Linked DNA regions of Homo sapiens: all the other regions are linked to region 1. The links are contacts of gene promoters, found by promoter capture Hi-C in blood cells and fetal thymus (Javierre and others, 2016). All regions are on one chromosome and are shown on one strand. The core of a region is centred on a gene start or on the middle of the fragment in contact, and the rest is flanking DNA. Distances in the headings are between cores, read along the strand shown. Region 1 holds the start of LRRK1 (leucine rich repeat kinase 1). Region 2 overlaps CHSY1 (chondroitin sulfate synthase 1). Region 3 has its middle 58 kb from the start of ASB7.

Region 1 (2,581 bases), core at 58-2,557:
AAGGGAAGTGGAGGTGCCCCATCTTCACCTGCCGCGTCCCCTCCAGCGTCTGCCCGGGCCCTGGGCCTGCGCTCCCTCGCGGTGGCGCCAGGTGGCGGGGCTGCGCGCCCTGGAGGAGCTGCACCGCCGTCGCGGGGCTCTCTCAGCACTGAGGACACCACGCCCTGCAAATTGTTGGGAACTTGTCGGTGGCAATCACACTGCTGGCTCCTGCAAACTGGTGTGAGGCCCTCAGGGGTGAGAACAGGATTGCAGAACTGCGCTCACCCTTTTGGAAAGTCGTCCAGTGGCAGAAGTAGCCTCCCAGGAGCAGAGCGAAGCTGCTCGGTGGTCCCCTCTCCAACCAGGGACCCAAGAAGCCGCTCAAGGGAACACGGCCCCGCGGCGTCCGGGAGGTCCTGCAGGAGCCCTGCGGCTGCCCCGGTTCTGTGAAATGGCAGTGAGGGTGGGGGAGATGTGCGCTAAATCCTGGGAACGTGCGAGTCATAACTTTCCAGGAGAGGGGCCCAGGGCGCTGGTCCTGCAGGGCGTGGAACCCTCTGCTCTTCCTGAGCAGGCTTTGTCCCCGGGTCGACACGGGGAGCTCAGCGTGAGGCCCGCCTGCAGCGTGGACGCAGATCTTTTTTATGGTCTGCGTTTCTGTATTAGCCTCAGCAGCCTGGTGACGCCTTTATAAAAGGTCGAAACACGATAAATTGCCAATATTCCACGTTTTATGTATTCCCCCCAAAGCCGACAATTAACAATGACTCACCGAGCAGCAGATTCTTTGCACACATCCATAATTGAATCAGTAAAATCCATGTGTTGGAGGATATGCAAATTGCAGGTCGTTAACGCTTTAGAACGACACATTTCTGTATCGCCCCGTGAAGAGCTCTACGCACATGAATGTTCCCCGTCTGTTTAACTGTTACGGCCGCAGTGTGTGGGCCGCAGGCGCGCTGGGGGCTCATCTGCTGATTTTGCTGCCCCTGGAGCAGAGGGATAGCGAAAGCGGGGCTGAGCGCAGCACGGACCGATCCCATCGCCGCGCTCGCCCCGCGTGGAGGCAGCCGGGTGCCCGAACCTGAAGGAGGACCCGGTGCCGGAAGGGCCCGCGGACCCCGGCGTCTCCCGGGGCATCGAGCGCCATCGCCCGCGTTTTACGGCCAGGGAAACTGAGGCGGCCGCCGAGGGGACGCCTCGCGACGGTTCCTGGGAGAGCTGGCGGCGGCCTTGCTCTGCGCGCTCTTCGCGCCGCCCTCCCCGCCCGCCCGCCTCAGGATTGAGGAAGTGCGTCTGGGCCCGGCCCCGGCGCGGGGGGCAGACGGCGGTGGGACGGCCAGGCCCCGGCCCCGCCAGTGTGTCCGCCCGGCCCCGCGTCCCGGAGCGCCCGCACCCGGCCCCGCCGCCGCCTCAGGTAAGCGCCGCTCCTGCCGGCGCCCCCCGGCGGCCTGGCTGCCTCCCGGCCCCGCCCGGGGAACCCAGAGCCCGCGCCCGGCGCCCGCGGGGAGCCTCGGCCTCTGCCTGCCCGCGGGCCCCTGCGCTCCGGGCGGCCGCGTGGTCGGGCACGGGGGGCCGTTGCGCAGGGGCCGCGGCCCGAGGGGCGCGGAGGGCGTGTGGGGCGACCCCGGTCTCACGTCCCCGCTGCCTCCCGCCGCGCCCGGAGCCCAGCCAGCCTGTGGGAGGGGAGCGCGCGGGGCCCGAGCAGGGAACCCCGAAACCCCGTCCGGGCAGGGTCGGGAAAGCTGGGAAGCGGAGGCAAGAGACACGAGTCGGGAGACACGAGCCGGGGAGCCCATAGGTTTCCTCTGCCTTTGGAGCGAACCCAGTCCCTTAGCGGGGAGCGGGCGGAGTGTGAGCGCGCGGGTGAGCCCGTGCCGGGGTGTCGGCAAGAGACCGCCCGGGAGCCTCTCGCTGGTCCGGGGCTTCCTGGGGTTGCGGGGCGGCCCAGCGAGGCTTCACCCTCCTCGATGTCTGGGTCACGCTTCTTGCCCAGGTGGTCTCTGGCTGGCGCAGATACAACTGCTCTGTCTACCATGGTCTCTGCAAGCTACAGGGGACCTTCCTGGCAGGCAGGGACGCGGGAAGGAAGCCTAGGAAGGCCGGGGTCAGCGAGGAGACGCTGGTGGAGAATCTGAGAACCCCCGTGGCCATCTCAACCTACCCCTTCACAGTATGAGGCCGCGAAGTTTTTCTCCCACGAACACTTCCCCTGCAACAGGTAGAGAAACGGGGGCATATAGCTTTCAGCAAACCTCTCACCGTGTACACTAATGATAGAGTTTGCCAGCCACTCACAGGGTATCAAAATGCCCAGACATTAAAGGGATAGCTAGAACATGCACAATTTTGGAAAATGTTAACATTAAACGCCTTTTATGATTTGATTCTCTTCATCTTTGCCTATGTCCTGAAAGAGAAAATAATATAACAAACTAACCTCACACCTAATTTGTTCCTAAAGGAGGTTTTGCGGTCAGCCAAACCTTTCCCTCTCCCAAAAGTCGATGTCTCTGGCAGTGACCTCGCAGTCAACTCGGATCCTCAGATAAAAAACATTCAGTCTGTTGAATCTATGTCTAAAATGTGTCCTGAT
Region 2 (2,581 bases), core at 58-2,557, 320 kb after region 1:
ACAAGGTCAGGAGTTCAAGACCAGCCTGGCCAACATGGTGAAACCCCATCTCTACTAAAAAAAAAAATACAAAATTTAGCCAGGCATGGTGGCGTGTGCCTGTAATCCCAGCTACTCAGGAGGCTGAGGCAGAAGAATTGCTTGAACCCGGGAGGCAGAGGTTGCAATGAGCCGAGATCGCACCACTGCACTCCAGCCTGGACAAAAGAGCAAGACTCCATCTAAAAAAAAAAAAAAAAAAAAAAAAAACAGAGGCAAATGTGCAAGGCCTGGCAGAGTACACTAGAGATGCAGGCCTCTATGTTGCAAGAGCCACAGGAAGCCTCTAGAGGGAATGCGGCAGAAGACAAGATTAAGGCCCACACATTTTGAACTCCCTAGGAATGGAGAAGAAGGCCGAAGGAAGCCAGAGTGGACACAGGAAGACCACTGAGTAAACTACTGCAGCAGCCCAGACCCGGGTTTAAGAGACAACGGTTGCCCATCAACAGAGGGAAGATGAGTGGTCAATTGCGAGGAAACCACATAAAGGGTTTAAGAGACAACGGTTGCCCGTCGACAGAGGGAAGATGAGTGGTCAACTGCGAGGAAACCACGTAAAGGGTGTAAGAGACAACGGTTGCCCATCGACAGAGGGAAGATGAGTGGTCAACTGCGAGGAAACCACGTAAAGGCTGCTTCTGCTGAGCAGCTAATTGAAGGCTATCATATCGCACTTTCCCTCCTACTTTCTTCACGTTCTGTATTCAGATCTAAAGTTGTTTGGCTATAATAATTCATTCATACAGACTACTTCCAAGAAAAATGTATCGTGGAGAATAAATAAAATAGTAAATTTAATCTTAAAATAAAAAAAGCAGTTATCAAATGATGTTCTTTCAAATATTTTTTATTTTACCTGTTACAAGTGTATTTATTATAGTGAAAAATTACTTGAAGGATCAATGAAACCCCCACACATCTTTAAGGGAAAGTCTTAGGAGAGAAATATCTGAAAAGATACACACCAAATCTCTGCGGAAGAGGTACACAAGGAGGAAAATTGGGAGGAGCTGGAATGTGTGTGGACAAAGGTGACTTTCACTTTTTATTCTATGCATCTCTATATTGAAGGACAACTGCATAAGTATCATATTGTTTTTTTTAAAAAAAATTGTGATAAAATATACATAACATAAAACTTACCATCTTAACCATTTCTAAATGTAAAGTTCAGCAGCATTCAGTGTTGTGAAACCATCGGCACCATCCATTTCCAGAACTTTTTTCATCTTGCAAAACTGAGATTCTAAATATTTACTTTTGTAATTTTAAAAAGAACTTACAATGAAGCACTTGGAAAACAAATGACTGGCTTTTATTTCTCTTCCAAACCCAAATATGAGGAATACAAAACAACTTCGAATGTATCTCTTTCAAGTAGAGGCAAAATTCAATGGAATTCGACTTTCTGCCAACACGCCTCTCAAAAAGTGCAAGGATTAAATATATACATTTTTTCATCACATTTAGGATGTTAACTGGAAGATGCACCATTGTTTTATCTATCAACAAATTTAAAAAATACTGCCAATCATAATCCCATGACGCCGGTAACTATAAAATGCATCCTAATTTCTGAGATGTCAAAATCACAGAATGGATATAAGATGGTGTTGTTAATGTTTTCCCTTAGTGCCTATGGATTTAAAATGGACCTGTATTCTTACGCCACTTAAATAACTCATTAACAAAGAACAAGAATAACAACAAAAAACAAATTCAGCCCAGACATTCATTCCACGGTTATTAACAGATACTGTTCTAGGTACTGCACTTCATTTTCACAAAGGATATGCTCCTGAAGAAAAAGGATGTAGAATAAACGTAGAGATGTGGAAATTAATTTAAAGAAAAACCAATCCCACCTACAAAGGGACAAGTCCTTTTGCAAATGCGACAATGTGTGAATGTGTGACAAGCTATACAGAGTCTTCTGATGCGGTGACATATGGAGGGGAGATAACTTCTCAGAACTCCTCCAGCCTTGGGAAGTTAGTAAGGACAAAATTATAGTGCAATGACCCCCCATTCAAGTCGAGGAGCCCCTGATAATGCTCTCTTTATAGAGAAATGTTTTTCATTTGGCAGTCGCAACAATTCTTTGAAAATGTAAATAATTTCAGTGCTTGGCACATAATAGAGGTCACTAAATGTGTGCACTGAATACTGCCCACTCATGTACAATAAGTAACTTAATGGTGCCACACGTGTTTGCAAAAGGTCAGAAATCATTTCTATCTTGTACTTTGAGAAATTTTCAACCTAGGAAGCCATGAAAATACTAAAACACTGTAATGTTATTTGGGAGATGGGGTGGGCGAGACAATTCCTGCCTTCAAAGAACAACCAACTAAGGAGGCGAATCTACAGCATCACCGCAAGAGCTGGCTCTGGAATCAGGCCATGGGGGCGAGAACTCCAGCTCCACTTGGGACAAGTTACTCTGTGCCTCAGTTTCCTTATCTGTAAACGGGGGTTGTTGTGAGGGTTAAATGAGCTCTCTGTAAACAGCTTAGAAGCCTGCCTGGCACTATGTAAG
Region 3 (2,581 bases), core at 31-2,530, 260 kb before region 1:
GCTTCCTCTGCAGAAAGGCCTTTGAAGGGAGACTCTCACAGCTGTGAGGGGATGCAACAGCGACGTCGAGTGTCTTGGTGATGAGCTGTGACATTCTGGTCACCAGGGTGTGCTCACCTGCCTGGAAGGAGCCCCCACCCCCAGGAGAGCCACTATGTAACCGATGCCAGGCCCTGCAGTGACTGGTGGCCGGGCAGGGTGGGGATGCCGGCACCTGAGTTCGGTTGCTGCCTCATCCGTGAGCCGGGCTGGCTCCCAGGTGTTGAAGTCCTCGTGGCATGCACTTCTGGACAGCTTTGTGCCTTGAGATAAAAAAGCACAGGCCGGGCGCTGTGGCTCACACCTGTAATCCTAGCACTTTGGGAGGCGGAGGCAGGTGGATTGCCTGAGCTCAGGAGTTCGAGACCAGCCTGGGCAGCACGGTGAAACCTTGTCTCTACTAAAATACAAAAAATTAGCCGGGCTTGGCGGTGTGCGCCTATAGTCCCAGCTACTCCAGAGGCTGAGGCAGGAGAATTGCTAGAACCCGCGAGGCGGAGGTTGCAAGTGAGCCGAGATCGTGCCACTGCACTCCAGCCTGGGCGACAGAGCGAGACTCCGTCTCTAAAAAAAATTTTTAAAAAGCATGTATATAGGCTCCGCGTGGAAACATCCAAACCGTGTGTTATATGAGGAGCCTTTGAGAATTCTGTAGAAACACTTACTCATGAAGCCTATAATTAAGTAACTTTGGCTAGCTTCATGGAAATGCTTGATGTTTAGGAAGTTATTAGAGGGTTCAAAAAAAAAAAACCCTACCCTGAGATTAACCGATACCATTACTTCCTACTCCATCTAACAATTATTTAATTAAAAAGTACTCTAATCACCTTGTGTTTTAGTGGGCAGTAATAAAAAGCCTGCTTAGTAGAAGCTCATCTTTGCATGACATGCACTTTGAGAGATTTTTCAGGTCAGAGTCTATCCCCTGGAAGTGATACAGACCCTGAGAGGAGTCCCACGGTGCTTCTAACTCAAGCCTAACCCCCGTTCGGTTCTGCCCTGGTGTTCCTTACTGCACATGTTCACGAAATCCCAGGAGGGTTTAGAAATGACCCTGGTGAGTGCCGCTAGCTCATTCGACACATACTTTTTGAGCACCTATGCTGAAGGACCAGATTTGTGCCAGCACTTGGAAGGAGCCCGCGTGGGAGCCCAGATGGTGGGCGAGAGGACAGAAGCAGGGCTGGCACGGGAAGATTGGGCTGGGTGGAGATCAGGGCTGGGGCTGTGCGGAGCCGGGGACTTCTACTTTCCAGATTCAAAACGTACGCCATCCCTGGGGTGTGGAATTACGGTGCCATCCCTGGGGTGTAGAATTACGGTGCCATCCCTGGGGTGTGGAATTACGGTGCCATCCCTGGGGTGTGGAATTACGGTGCCATCCCTGGGGTGTGGAATTACGGTACTCTCTGCATTAGTGCAGGTGAGCAAGCATCTGTACCCACTGGAGCGCTTTTTAAAATAGTGCGGGTCCTACCCCCAGAATTTCAGATGCAGCGGTTCTCAGGTGGGGCTTAAGAATCTCCACGTCTATCCGGGCATGGCGGCTCATGCCTGTAATCCCAGCACTTTGGGAGGCTGAGGCAGGCAGATCACCTGAGGTCAGGAGTTCAAGACCAACTTGGCCAACATGATGAAGCTCCATCTCTACTAAGCAGAAAAAAAAAAAAAAATTAGCCAGGCGTGGTGGCATGTGCTTGTAGTCCCAGCTACTCAGGAGGCTGAGCCACAAGAATTGCCTGAGCCCGGGAGGCGGAGGTTGCAGTGAACCAAGATCGTGCCACGGCACTCCAGGCTGGGTGACAAAGTGAGGCTCCGTCTCAAAAAATAAAAAATAATAATCTCCGTGTCTAACAAGCACCCAGGTGAGGTGTGTGCTGTTGGTCTGTGGACCCAACTTAGAACCACTGTGTGAGGGTATTTGGACTGTGAGGTGTGTGCTGTTGGTCTGTGGACCCAACTTAGAACCACTGTGTGAGGGTATTTGGACTCTTTGTAGCAAAGAAAGGACAAGGTAAAAAAAGAAAAAGAAAGAAATCCTACAGTCACTATGAGATGTTAGAAAAGCCACCTATCTGCTTATCCATGAGATGTAAGTAAAGATGCAGTGATTTTTCAGAACCCACACGTGAAACTGAGTCTTTGTATTTTATGGGCCGGCCTTGAATAGTTCTGCATGTGTTATGTGAACAAAGACTACAAATCTCTCCGGCTACACTACAAGCTGGCTCGACATCGAGACCTTCATGTCTCCAATTATCTTTTGCAACTACTTAATTTCAGTTGGGCACAGACAAAACCAGTAGCCTGTAGTTCTGTTATCCTGCTGTTAATGTTCTTCAGTCTCATTTGGTGGCTTGTAAATAATAATGTGTGCCAAACGTGAATAATGACAGCCCTAGCCTGCTCCAGGGTGGGAGAGACGATGACTCTAGCTGCCTCAGCCAGCATGTGCCTTGGCACTGCCCGTGAGGCGGCCTGCCAATGAAGTGTCTCTAAGAAGCATGGGTAGCATTGCCCCAATTGCCGATCGCAGATA

What was found. The method cuts DNA at HindIII sites, captures the fragments that hold promoters and counts their contacts. A CHiCAGO score of 5 or more calls a contact.
Region 2: a fragment that was not itself captured here is called in contact with the fragment with the promoter of LRRK1 in region 1 in 1 of 17 cell types (M2 macrophages); the score reaches 5.2 in M2 macrophages.
Region 3: a fragment that was not itself captured here is called in contact with the fragment with the promoter of LRRK1 in region 1 in 1 of 17 cell types (endothelial precursors); the score reaches 8.9 in endothelial precursors.

Annotation. Positions count from the first base shown.
Region 1 is chr15:100,918,050-100,920,630 of GRCh38, forward strand. LRRK1 (leucine rich repeat kinase 1) reads left to right here and starts at 1,308. Exons shown (of 34, transcript NM_024652.6): 1 at 1,308-1,402. It overlaps ALDH1A3-AS1 (ALDH1A3 antisense RNA 1), which reads right to left and starts at 1,234. Exons shown (of 2, transcript NR_135827.1): 1 at 755-1,234. RefSeq lists silencers at 1-194, 955-1,544 and enhancers at 1-572, 325-414, 465-584, 1,759-2,350. The HindIII fragment of the contact is 4,524 bases long and covers 1-2,581 here.
Region 2 is chr15:101,237,000-101,239,580 of GRCh38, forward strand. The region is part of intron 1 of CHSY1 (chondroitin sulfate synthase 1); the gene reads right to left. Among named protein-coding and RNA genes, the nearest start is that of CHSY1, 14 kb to the right of the region's middle. The HindIII fragment of the contact is 3,097 bases long and covers 1-2,581 here.
Region 3 is chr15:100,658,887-100,661,467 of GRCh38, forward strand. No RefSeq gene overlaps it. Among named protein-coding and RNA genes, the nearest start is that of ASB7, 58 kb to the left of the region's middle. The HindIII fragment of the contact is 6,586 bases long and covers 1-2,581 here.